4 separate regions of the Homo sapiens genome follow, and regions 1, 2 and 3 are each linked to region 4. The links are contacts of gene promoters, found by promoter capture Hi-C in blood cells and fetal thymus (Javierre and others, 2016). All regions are on one chromosome and are shown on one strand. The core of a region is centred on a gene start or on the middle of the fragment in contact, and the rest is flanking DNA. Distances in the headings are between cores, read along the strand shown. Region 1 has its middle 190 kb from the start of DOK5. Region 2 overlaps LOC124904938 (a long non-coding RNA gene). Region 3 has its middle 9.3 kb from the start of RAB22A. Region 4 holds the start of FAM210B (family with sequence similarity 210 member B).

Region 1 (2,700 bases), core at 135-2,634, 1.7 Mb before region 4:
TAGGAGAAGTATCACTGTGACATTAAGGGCACCATGAACAGGGAAAGCAGGAAAGCTCCCGCTCTGCATTGCCTTCTGCCTGGGGACAGCCCTGAGATGCAGGTTCTGTGGCTTGAGTGCCTAGCCCTGTATAGGACACACAAGCAGGGCTGGTTTCATGGATGTGCAACCCAGGCAGCTGCACAGGTCCCCATGCTCAGAAGCGTCCCACACTTGATTTAATGCTCTGCTGTAACCTTCTTGAAATTCTCAGTGTTTCCTTCTTTGAACTTGTGTTTTATAAGTAAAGTCTGATGGAATAATGGAGCCTGCCTGTGAGCAGAAGAGATATCTGCAGACTGAGTGAGCGCCTTGCAGCTTTATTTGCATGTAGCATTCACGATGCCCCATGAACACAGAATTCCAGGGGACCTGAGGTGCGTGGCAGTGAGTCCCAACGCAAATACAAACTATGAAAGGAAAATAAATCTTGGGACACCAAAATCATGAAGCCAAAGGGAAAAATAGTCAGGCTGGGAACTGCTTAGGGCAAACCTAACTTCCACTCTATACCTAAAATGATAGCTACTAAGATAAAACAGCTGCATACTTCCCTCCCTAGGAATTTCCTTGTGGACAAAAGATAGACAGAATTCAAAGTCATCCCTCTGCTCACTGAGATAAACGCATATCTGATGGCCTCCTTTGGAATGGCTAATCAGAAACTCAAAAGAATGCAACCATTTGTCTCTTACCTACCTATGACCTGGAAGGCCCCTCTCCGTTTCAAGTCCCACCTTTCCAGACTGAATCAGTGTACTTTTTTTTTTTATTTTTTATTTTTATTTTTGAGACAGAGTCTTACTCTGTCACTCAGGCTGGAGTGCAGTAGCGCACTGCAACCTCCGCTCCCCGGGTTCAAGCAATTCTCTGCCTCAGCCTCCCGAGTAGCTGGGATTACAGACATCCGCCACTACGCCCGGCTAATTTTTTGTATTTTTAGTAGAGACGGGGTTTCACCACGTTGGCCAGGCTGGTCTTGAACTCCTGACCTCGTGATCCACCTGCCTTGGCCTCCCAAAGTGCCGGGATTACAGGTGTAAGCCACCACACCCGGCCCCAGTGTACATCTTTCATGTATTGATTGATGTCTCATGTCTCCCTAAAATATATAAAACCAAGCTATGCCCTGACCACCCTGGGCACCTGTCATCAGGACCTCCTGAGGCTGTGTCATGGGCGTGTGTGCTAAACTTTGGCCAAATAAACTTCCTAAATTGAGACCTGTCTCAGATACCTGGGGTTCAAAAGGGAAGTATGTCACCTCTGTCGCTGAGTAAGAGGGGCCACGGCCCCGAAGCGGCTTTTCCTTTGAATCAGAGCTTGCTTCAAATGCAGAAAGAAGGCAATGGCATTCTAAGAAATATAAACATCTGAGGAAGCCTATTTCAACCTTTCTTACGTACATTGCTTCCTCGTACAACACAGAAGGAAAAGCAAATCTGGAGCAACCCGGATTTCCTTCCTTGTTCATCAGTAAGCCAGTGGTAGTGTTACTGGAAAAGGGTCCCAATCCAGACCCAAACAGAGGGTTCTCGGATCTCACACAAGAAGGAATTTGAGGTGAGTCTATAAAGTGAAAGCAAGTTTATTATGAAAGTAAAGAAATAAAAGAATGGCTCCTCCATAGGCAGAGGAGCCCTAAGGGCTGCTGGTTGCCCATTTTTATGGTTATTGATTATATGCTAAACAAGGGGTGGATTATTCATGAGTTTTCCAGGAAAGGAGTGGGTGATTTCTGTAACTGAGGATTCTCCCCTTTTTTAGACCATGCAGGGGAACTTCCTGACATTACCATGGATTTTGTAAACTGTCATGGTGCTGGTGGGAGTGTAGCAGTGAGGACGACCACAGGTCACTCTCATCGCCACCTTGGTTTTGATGAGTCTTAGCCCGCTTCTTTATTGCAACCTGTTTTATCAGCAAGGTCTTTATGACCTGTATTTTGCAGACCTCCAATCTCATCCTGTGACTTAGAATGCCATAACTATCTGGGAATGCAGCCCAGTAGGTCTCAGCTTTATTCTACCCAGCTCGTATTCAAGATGGAGTTGCTCTGGTTCAAATGACTCTGACAGTGGAGTGTCGGTAGAATATGCATGTATCAAGTAATGAGATGCAAAGAAGTGGGGTAGTTCTATGCAGCATTTCTGCTGTTTTGGCAAGAAGAGAACACATAAGCAAGTATATGAGCTAGGAAAAATGAGCTGTGTAATTTTCGTGATTCAGCACATGAATTACATGTTCTTATATTAACATTTAGAAAGGACATTATACAATATAAAGGTAAATGGTGAAATTCATGCCCATAATTTAAAATTTCAGTTTTTTGTTTTTACTTATGACATCAAATAGCAATAAAAAACCTACAATGACAAGTTGAGAGGAAGAAAGGAAAAATGTTTGTATTTTAGTTCCTTTGACCCACTTTTTTTCCTGCTTTTGGAACAGGAAGTTCACGTTTTCATTTTACACTGGGTCTCCTGATTCCGTAGCCGCCCTGTCCTGAAGGTGCCCCTTGAGAAGAAGGCAACTGAGCGGGACTGGGGATTGTTCGTTGACTTTTTCTGTCTCTTTTGTGCTTCTTCATGTGGCTCCCACCCAGGACTGATGCTCGCCTTTTAAAACTCGCAGTCCAGTCATTTAATAATTGACCTCGGT
Region 2 (2,700 bases), core at 126-2,625, 1.0 Mb after region 4:
CGCTTTCCCAGGATGGGACCTTGCCACCTCCCCAAGGGGATAGTTTTTGTAATTGGCAAATTTAAAACATTTGCATAAATCCAAGATTGGACTGGGCTGTCAGAACCTGGGAGGGAGCTCTGCTGCCACCAGGATGTGAACCCTAGATGAGGCCCAGGCTCATTTCTCTGCTGCCCAGGACCTAAAGCATAAAAGCACACTACATGTTTGCTAATGAGGATCTAGGAAGTATTCACTGAGATCGTTAAGCTTCTTCAAATATTTATGTTCATGTTTCCTAAAATGCATATGAAGTCTTAGAGGAACTCTTCATCTTAAACTTCAGCATCTTTGCAGGCACCTGTAAGTTGCATGCAGTAGGTGCTCATTAAGTATTCATAAGTTTGATGGCATCTTCTACTTCAAAGAGATACTAGTGTAATCTTGGCTCTTTGTTTCACTAAATGTCAAGCCGTCCTGCCATTAAATATTGACTGCACACCCTGTTAAGAGCTGCTTTCGTTGAAAGTAAAGTATATAAACCTCATGGAGAAGACAAATTGTGTTCTTTCACTTAATTTTTTCCAACATATGAAAATTTTAAAACATCCACAAAAGTGGAAAGGGTTTTGGCAGTGAACATACACCTGCCATCTGCCTGCCACCAGGATGCCACCATGAACACTCACCTTTCCCTTGATTTTCTGCTTGGTTTTGCCTGGCTTTCCTCCCAGTCTTTGTTGTAACATCGCTTCCTTGGTTCCTCACTGTGGGAACAGGGCCTCATGGGAAGAACTTTGTGTAAAGATGCTGCTGCAACAAGGTGGCAGGGATTTAGGGTGGGCACAGGAAGGTGCACTCGGTTCCTGTCATGTTTGGTTGGAAGCAGGATGGAGCTGTGGTGGGTTTGTGTGAGACACCTGTCTGTGAGCCTGTGCTCACGTGTGTGCACGTGTGCATGTGAGCCTGCCTGTGAAAACCCTCTCAGTCAAAGGGGCCAGCTGAACCCGCCTGCCTCACCCCGTTTTCGGGTTAGCTTCACACCAGAGATCCTCTGGCAGAGGAAGAACAAAGGATGCGGCAAGTGCCTGGCCTGCTGGCAGTGAGCTTGCTGACTTTCACCAGAAAATCACCACCAAGAGAAGGTAAACAGCAAGGGCCAGGCGTGGTGGCTCACGCCTGGAGTCTCAGCACTTTGGGAGGCCAAGGCGGGAGGATCACTTGAGGCCAGGAGTTCCAGACCAGCCTGGGCAACAAAGCAAGACCCTGTCTCAAAGAAATTTTATTGAGTCATGTAGGAAATGTTTGTTTTTCTCATTCAACCAAAATTTTCGTCTCTTTTGGAGGAGAGACTCTAAAACATGAACTAAACACATGTTCTTGAACACTCGGGAGTGCCTAAGCCAGCCTTTTCCGAATTCACTCATGACCCATTCGTAGGTTGTGAAATGAACGTAGTTGTTGCAGTGAGCGTTTCTTTTAGTGGAGCCACACAAAATCACAGAATCTATGTATGTATGAGATATTTTCATATCCTGGGGTGGGATTCTTCTCTGTGCCTGTCACTTTTTGTATGGTTTAGGATGAGTTCTTAGCTTCGGTGACCTCAAGTACTAAGCCATAACTGCACTTGAGGTCTCCCCAAAATGGGAGGGATGATTATATTAATTATATTTGAAATAACCTTATAACATTGCAATTAAGAACAGGGGGCTGGGTGCGGTGGCTCATGCCTGTAATCCCAGCACTTTGGGAGGCCGAGGCAGGCGGGCCACTTGAGGCCGAGAGTTCCACACCAGCCTGGCCAACAAGGCAAAACCCGTCTCTACTAAAAATACAAAAATTTGCTGGGCACGGTGGCACCTGCCTGTAATCCCGGCTACTGGGGAGGCTGAGGCGTGAGAATTGCTCAAGTGCTTGAGCCCAGGAGGTGGAGATTGCAGTGAGCCTAGATCACGACAGAGTGAGACCCCGTCTCAAAAAACAAAAAAACATGTACTTGAAATTGGACTGCCCACCTTCAATTCCAACTCTGTCACCAACTTTGCTAACATGTGATTTACCCTTTGTTTAAGCCTGTGATTTAACCCTCTGAGCCTCAGTGACCTCATCTGTAAAATGGGAGACATTAAAAGTAGCTATCATAATGGTTGTGTGAGTAGTCAAAGAGTTAAAGCGTAAAAGTGCCCCTGTGGCTGGCCCGTGATGTGGAGTTTGAATGTAGCTGCTACTACGAGTGCCAGTGAGGATGACATCCATGAGAAGTCTCCTGCTCAATGGGGCTGTGCTGTCGGTATACAGGCGGGACAAAAAGGTCCAGAGACCAAGTGACTGGAGATCTTGCTTGTCTCTAAGATTCTTTCCCCAGGAGCCGGGTGTTGTGCTTAGGTCTGGCCAGCAGATGGCGCGAATGGCCCCAATGCCAACATTGGAGCATGTGTTTCTGTGTTCAGTTTCACAGACTTGAGTTCATTAAAAGAAATGAAGTGTTGGCCACCCCCTTCCATTTTTTGTTGTGTTGCTAAGCTTTTAGGATATTTGGGAAGTAGAATCAAAACATTGCTTATGCTGTCAGAAGAATCGTCTTAAAAATAACACACTTAGATTGAAGGCCTCCTTGGAAAATGCTAAAGGAGATAATTTGTCAGAGGTGGGACCCTGATTTTTCTGTTTCAAACTTAATGTCCGCGATGGTTTCCTCGTGGAACACTGAAGCCTTGG
Region 3 (2,709 bases), core at 20-2,519, 1.9 Mb after region 4:
ATCATTATTTATGACTCTTTTATTTACTTTTATTTTGAGATGGAGTTTCACTCTTGTTGCCCAGGCTGGAGTGCAATGGCGTGATCTTGGCTCACTGCAACCTCCACCTCCCAGGTTCAAGCGACTCTCCTGCCTCAGCCTCCTGAGTAGCTGGGATTACAGGCATGTGCCAGCATGCCCGGCTAATTTTTTTTTTTTTTTTTTTTTTTTTGTAATTTTAGTAGAGACAGGGTTTAACCATGTTGGCCAGGCTGGTCACAAACTCCTGACCTCAGGTGAACCACCTGCCTTGGCCTCCCAAAGTGCTGGAATTACAGGCGTGAGCCACCATGCCCCGCCGACTCTGACTTTTAAGTTGACAGTCAATGGGAAACAGGTTACCTGATAGGAAAGAACTCTGCAGCTCAAAGCAGTTCATATGCTCCATTTTAATGTTACCAATCTCCATTCTCCTGCCAACTCGCCCACTTGAGGGAGGGAGTTGAAGAAGATGAGGGTGGTAAAGTCTACACGGCGTTAATGAATGAATGAATGGAACAATATTACTTAAAAATGCAATGAGTTCTCTAGTCAGACTTGAGGTAGATGCAAAAGAAAAAAATGGTTGTAGAAGACAGTCAAAATCTTTGGGATGAGTATTGGGGTATAGGGTCCTCTATTTTCGTACTGTTCAAAATAGCTAAAACAATCAAGCAATGCTCTCAGACCAAGCAAGGTAACTTTACCAGCATCTCCAAAACCACCTCTTGCTCCATTCCACTTACCACCTCCCGCAATGGGTAACAACTCTCCTGCCTTCTGACAGCCTAGATTCGCTTTGCATCGTTTTATAGTTTGTACAAATAGAACCATGTAGTGTGTACCCTTTTGTGTCTGGCTTTTCAGATGTTTGTGAAATTATCCATATTACTGATTAGAGCTATAGATCATTCATTCTTACAGCTGCATGGTTTTCCATTGTGTGAACATACCAGAATTTATAATCCTTTGTAGTCATGATAAATATTTGAGTAGATTGCAGTTTCCAACTCTTAAGAATCATGCAACTGGCCCGGCACGGTGGCTCACGCCTGAAATCCCAGCACTTTGGGAGGCCGAGGCAGGCAGATCATGAGGTCAAGAGATCGAGACCATCCTGGCCAACATGGAAACCCCGACTGTACTAAAAGTACAAAAATTAGCTGGACCTGGTGGCGCGCCTGTAGTCCCAGCTACTCAGGAGGCTGAGGCAGGAGAATCGCTTAAACCCAGGAGGCAGAGGTTGCAGTGAGCCAAGATCACGCCACTGCACTCCAGCCTGGAGACAAAGCAAGACTCCAACTCAAAAAAAGAGAATCATGCGACTATGAACATGTTTTTTGAGAATATATGTCTATGTTTTGTTGGGCATATAACCAGGAGAATTGGTGGGTTATTCAAATTCTTTTTTTAAGGTTTTCAGAGTACATATAAATCATGCAAATCTGTGCTGGAATCTTCCATCCCTGACGAAAAGCCTCTTGAAGCCCTCCAGCTGCTTCTTGAAAGGCTGTGCTTTCTCCTGCTGGGCTGTGAGTCCCAAACGCAGTGACCATTCCTCAAAGTGCCCAGTGCCTAGCCACAGCCTGCTGTATTCTTCGCCTTGGCTACCAGGCATGGGACACTTTGACCACTGAGCTACTGGATTCCAGACCACACTGCCTCAACTTCCAAAACCTTCTCAATTAACTCCAATCTGGCTTCCACTTCTTGGCTGTGCTGAACTACTCACTGAGGTGAGTGAAGACGCCCTAACTGCCAAACTCCATGGCCTGTCTTCAATCCTCATCTTACCTGACCCTTCCGGGGCAAGTGACATAAATAAATGATTATCCAATCAAAACCCTGGCTCCAAGGGTCTCCTGGTTTCTTAACTCCATGGCTAATTTCTAGAAGCCTCTGCTGCCCAGGGTGTACCCCTTCGCCTTCTTCTCCAACATTCCCTCTCATCCTGCTCCCTCTCATCCTGCTCCAGCTACCACTCACCACTAATGACTTTCACATCTCCTCTCCAGTCCTAACTGTGCTCCAGAACCCTACAAGGGGGCTTTCTGGTGTCCTCAACAATGCCACCAGGATCTGTGTCATTGCTTCTCATGTGCTGTCCAGTGCCATTCACTATGTTAGACCACAGGGACCCAAAGAAGGATAAGACCCATTCTAATGGTCAATGCTATTAGTAAATTAGCAAATGCTGCCACAGGAAAATACAGGGCTCAGGAAACACAAAGAAGGAGTGTCTAGCCCAGTCTGGGTAGAAGGGAATGGAGGTGTCAGAAAAGTTCTCCACGAGACCCTGTCTCTGAGTTGACCCTTCCCTCACCACTGGAACTATCTGTCAACCCTATTCCCCACTCCCGGGCTCATCTCCTTGATTGAGACCCCACTCCCCTCGCCTGAACCACGGGAACACACTGGGGACCCCACCCCAGCTTTTCCTCCACCAGTCTTTCCTTTCTTTAAAGCACAGAGCAGCTCTAGTCACTCCCTGGTTCAGATTCTCCAGTGGTTCCCATGACTCCATGGATAAAAGGCCAACACTTTACCTTACAATGGACTTAAGGGCTATGTATGGCCTGGCCCCCACCTCCTCCTCTCACCTCCTGTGTCTGTTATTCACTGTTCCAGACACACAGGCCTTCCTGCTAGTCCTTGACAAGGAAGAGCTGTATGCAGGAGGCTTTCTCTGGC
Region 4 (2,700 bases), core at 144-2,643:
AATATATTTCTTTTTCTTTTTCTAGAGAGACAGGGTCTCGCTCTGTCACCCAGGCTGGAGTGCAGTAGCACCATCGTGGCTCCCTGAAACCTGGACCTCCTGAGCTCAAGCAATTCTGCGTCAGCCTCCCGAGTAGTTGGGACTACAGGTGCATGCCACCACACCAGGCTAATTTATTTTTATTTTTGTAGTGACAGGGTTTCGCTATGTTGCTCAGGCTGGTCTTGAACTCCTGAGCTCAAGTAATCCTCCCACCTCAGCCTCCCAACGTGCTTGGATTATAGGCATGAGCCATTCCACCCAGCCAGAACATCTTTATTGAAGTATAATTTACACAGCATAAAATTCATCCATGTTAAGTGTACAGTCCCACGAGTTTTAGTTACACAGCTGTCACCATCCCTACAATCTGGGTTTAGGATCCTTCCCTCACCCCAAGACGTTCCTCCCACTCCTTGGCAGTCAATCTCATTTCCCACTCCCAGCCCTAGGCCACCACGGATCTGTTTTAGGTCTCTGTGATTTTGCCTATTCTGGGCACTTCATGTAGCTGGAATCCTCCAGTGTGTGACTTTTGTGCCTAGATTTTTTCAATTGGCATAAGAGCTTTGAGATTCATTTATGTTGTGCATGTATCAGTAGTCTGTTCCCTTTAATTGTTGCATTGCGTCCCATTGAAGACTTGTGCCACAGTACGTCCCAGTTTATGGGCATTCCTAATTGTTGACTAATATTTATAAGATCTCTACAAACATTGGTGTCTTCACATTTTAGTCTTTGAGTGTCGAGCCTTTGTTTCTCTTGAGAAGCTACCGAGGAGTGGAGTTGCTGGGTTGTATGGTTAGTGTATGTCTAACTTTTCAAGAAACTGCCACACCATCTTTCGCTTTACATTCACGCCAACAATCTATGAGGGTCAGAGGACTTTTTATTAAACATGTACTAATATCAATTCTCATATTTATTTTCTTCTTTGGAGCTAACACGTAAACATATCTATAATTTTTTTTCAGATTTCACCCATTTCTGCAGGGAGAAAAGCTCATAAGCCACGGCCCTACGCCCACCTTTGTGCCCGCAGAATAAGGAAACCCGCCAACTACACACCACAGTTAGAAAGCCCAAGACCCTGAAAAGACCTGCACCCACCCCCAAAGGGGCGGGGCTGGTGGGCGGAGAGGAGGCGGGGCGCGCTCCTTCAGCCCCGCCCACCAGCCCTGGACTCCGGCTCCCGAGGAGCGGAGCTAGCGGGTGAGCCAAGGGGATGTGCACAGGCCTCCTCAGTCCCGCCCAGCGCGCGCGCGCGGCGGCGAAGCCGGCGGGCGGGGCCGGGGAGGGCCCTCGCCGGGTCAGCTCCGCCCACCCTCCCCGGCCTCCGCCCGCCTCCCGGGTCAGCGGCGCGGGTGCTGCGCCTAGCTGCGCACCATGGCCGGGTTGCTGGCGTTGCTGGGTCCGGCAGGCAGGGTGGGCGCCCGGGTCCGGCCTCGCGCCACCTGGCTCCTGGGCGCCACCGCCCCCTGCGCCCCGCCGCCCCTGGCCCTGGCCCTGCTCCCGCCCAGGCTAGACGCCCGGCTGCTCCGCACGGCGCGCGGGGACTGCCGCGGCCACCAGGTAAGCACCCCACCCCGACCCTGATCCCGGGCGGTGTCCAGGTCCCCAGACGTCCGCAGGGCCGCGCCGGGGTCCGGCCGCCTCCGCCAAGGACGCCTTTGCACTTGTAGCTGCCCGGGACCGAGCTCTTCCAGGGTCCCCGAAACCCCAAATCCCTGCAAGCCAAGGAAGCGATCCTCCTAGTTGACAGCCAGAGAAACTGAGGCTCGGGAAGGTGTGGCGCTCTGCCCAAGGTCGCGCAGTCTTCGGCCGAGCCCCGGGTCTGCAGAGCCTCAGCCAGGCTGGGGCGCAGCCGACTGACTTGGTCTGAACTTCCACACGTTGCCTGCGGAGTTGTTGTCCAGGCCTTCTGGCTGGGTCTCGCTGTGTTTTGAACACCTCCCGACGCTCGCTGCTCCTCCCTTTTCTTCTGAGTGGAAGAGCAGGCGTCCTCAGGGAAGCCGCGGGCAAGAAACCCACAGTGCTGTTTGTTATGTTTCATTTCCGTCACTTTCCATTGGTGCTAAGTGAAAACTGGTTTTCCTTCAGAGCAGTCATACCAGCTTTCCTTTCAAGAAATCTATCACTTTCTTCCAAGTGAGTCTTTTTAAATAAAAATAGTAGTAAATGAAGTCTGGCGGTCCAGGAATGGCAAGCCCAGACACGCGGAGCCGGCGTCCAGCCCGGAGCGCATCCGGCCTGGCAGTCTGGAGCCTCTTTGTTTGCCTGGGTGCAGACAGGGCCCCTCCATTCATCGCCCGGTGACCTCAGACCGAGTCCTGAAGGCTTTTGAGCTTGTTTTCTGACCTTTAGAGGGCCAAAAATAGCACCTTCCCAGCAAGAGTTTGGGAGACAACTCCATGAGCTGGTGCAGGCCTCAGCGGAGTGCCGCCGGCCCAGCGAACATCTCCTGACCGTTTCCTAGCTTTTCAGTAAGGAGCGGATGGGGATTGGACCCAGGCTTTCATCATGCCTCCTGCCCAGATCAACTTCCTTCCTTGCCTTCTCCAGTCCGACAGGTGGCACACAGGTCTTGGGGATCCTCTCCAGAGTGGCACCTTCTGCACACACCGTGCCGCCTCCTGATGATTCTTCAGGGCCCAGCCCAGC

Evidence for each region. Contacts are between HindIII fragments. The CHiCAGO score rates a contact against its expected background, and 5 or more counts as called.
Region 1: a fragment that was not itself captured here is called in contact with the fragment with the promoter of FAM210B in region 4 in 1 of 17 cell types (endothelial precursors); the score reaches 6.3 in endothelial precursors.
Region 2: a fragment that was not itself captured here is called in contact with the fragment with the promoter of FAM210B in region 4 in 1 of 17 cell types (non-activated CD4 T cells); the score reaches 5.3 in non-activated CD4 T cells.
Region 3: a fragment that was not itself captured here is called in contact with the fragment with the promoter of FAM210B in region 4 in 1 of 17 cell types (total B cells); the score reaches 5.4 in total B cells.

Annotation. Positions count from the first base shown.
Region 1 is chr20:54,659,329-54,662,028 of GRCh38, forward strand. No RefSeq gene overlaps it. Among named protein-coding and RNA genes, the nearest start is that of DOK5, 190 kb to the left of the region's middle. RefSeq lists an enhancer at 2,598-2,700. The HindIII fragment of the contact is 4,644 bases long and covers 1-2,700 here.
Region 2 is chr20:57,379,581-57,382,280 of GRCh38, forward strand. It overlaps LOC124904938 (a long non-coding RNA gene), which reads right to left. Exons shown (of 2, transcript XR_007067671.1): 1 at 1-2,700. Among named protein-coding and RNA genes, the nearest start is that of RBM38, 10 kb to the right of the region's middle. RefSeq lists an enhancer at 2,193-2,487. The HindIII fragment of the contact is 2,256 bases long and covers 248-2,503 here.
Region 3 is chr20:58,299,050-58,301,758 of GRCh38, forward strand. It overlaps the pseudogene PPP4R1L. Among named protein-coding and RNA genes, the nearest start is that of RAB22A, 9.3 kb to the right of the region's middle. The HindIII fragment of the contact is 3,290 bases long and covers 1-2,709 here.
Region 4 is chr20:56,357,581-56,360,280 of GRCh38, forward strand. FAM210B (family with sequence similarity 210 member B) reads left to right here and starts at 1,394. Exons shown (of 3, transcript NM_080821.3): 1 at 1,394-1,611. The coding sequence starts at 1,426. RefSeq lists a silencer at 1,071-1,670. The HindIII fragment of the contact is 7,749 bases long and covers 1-2,700 here.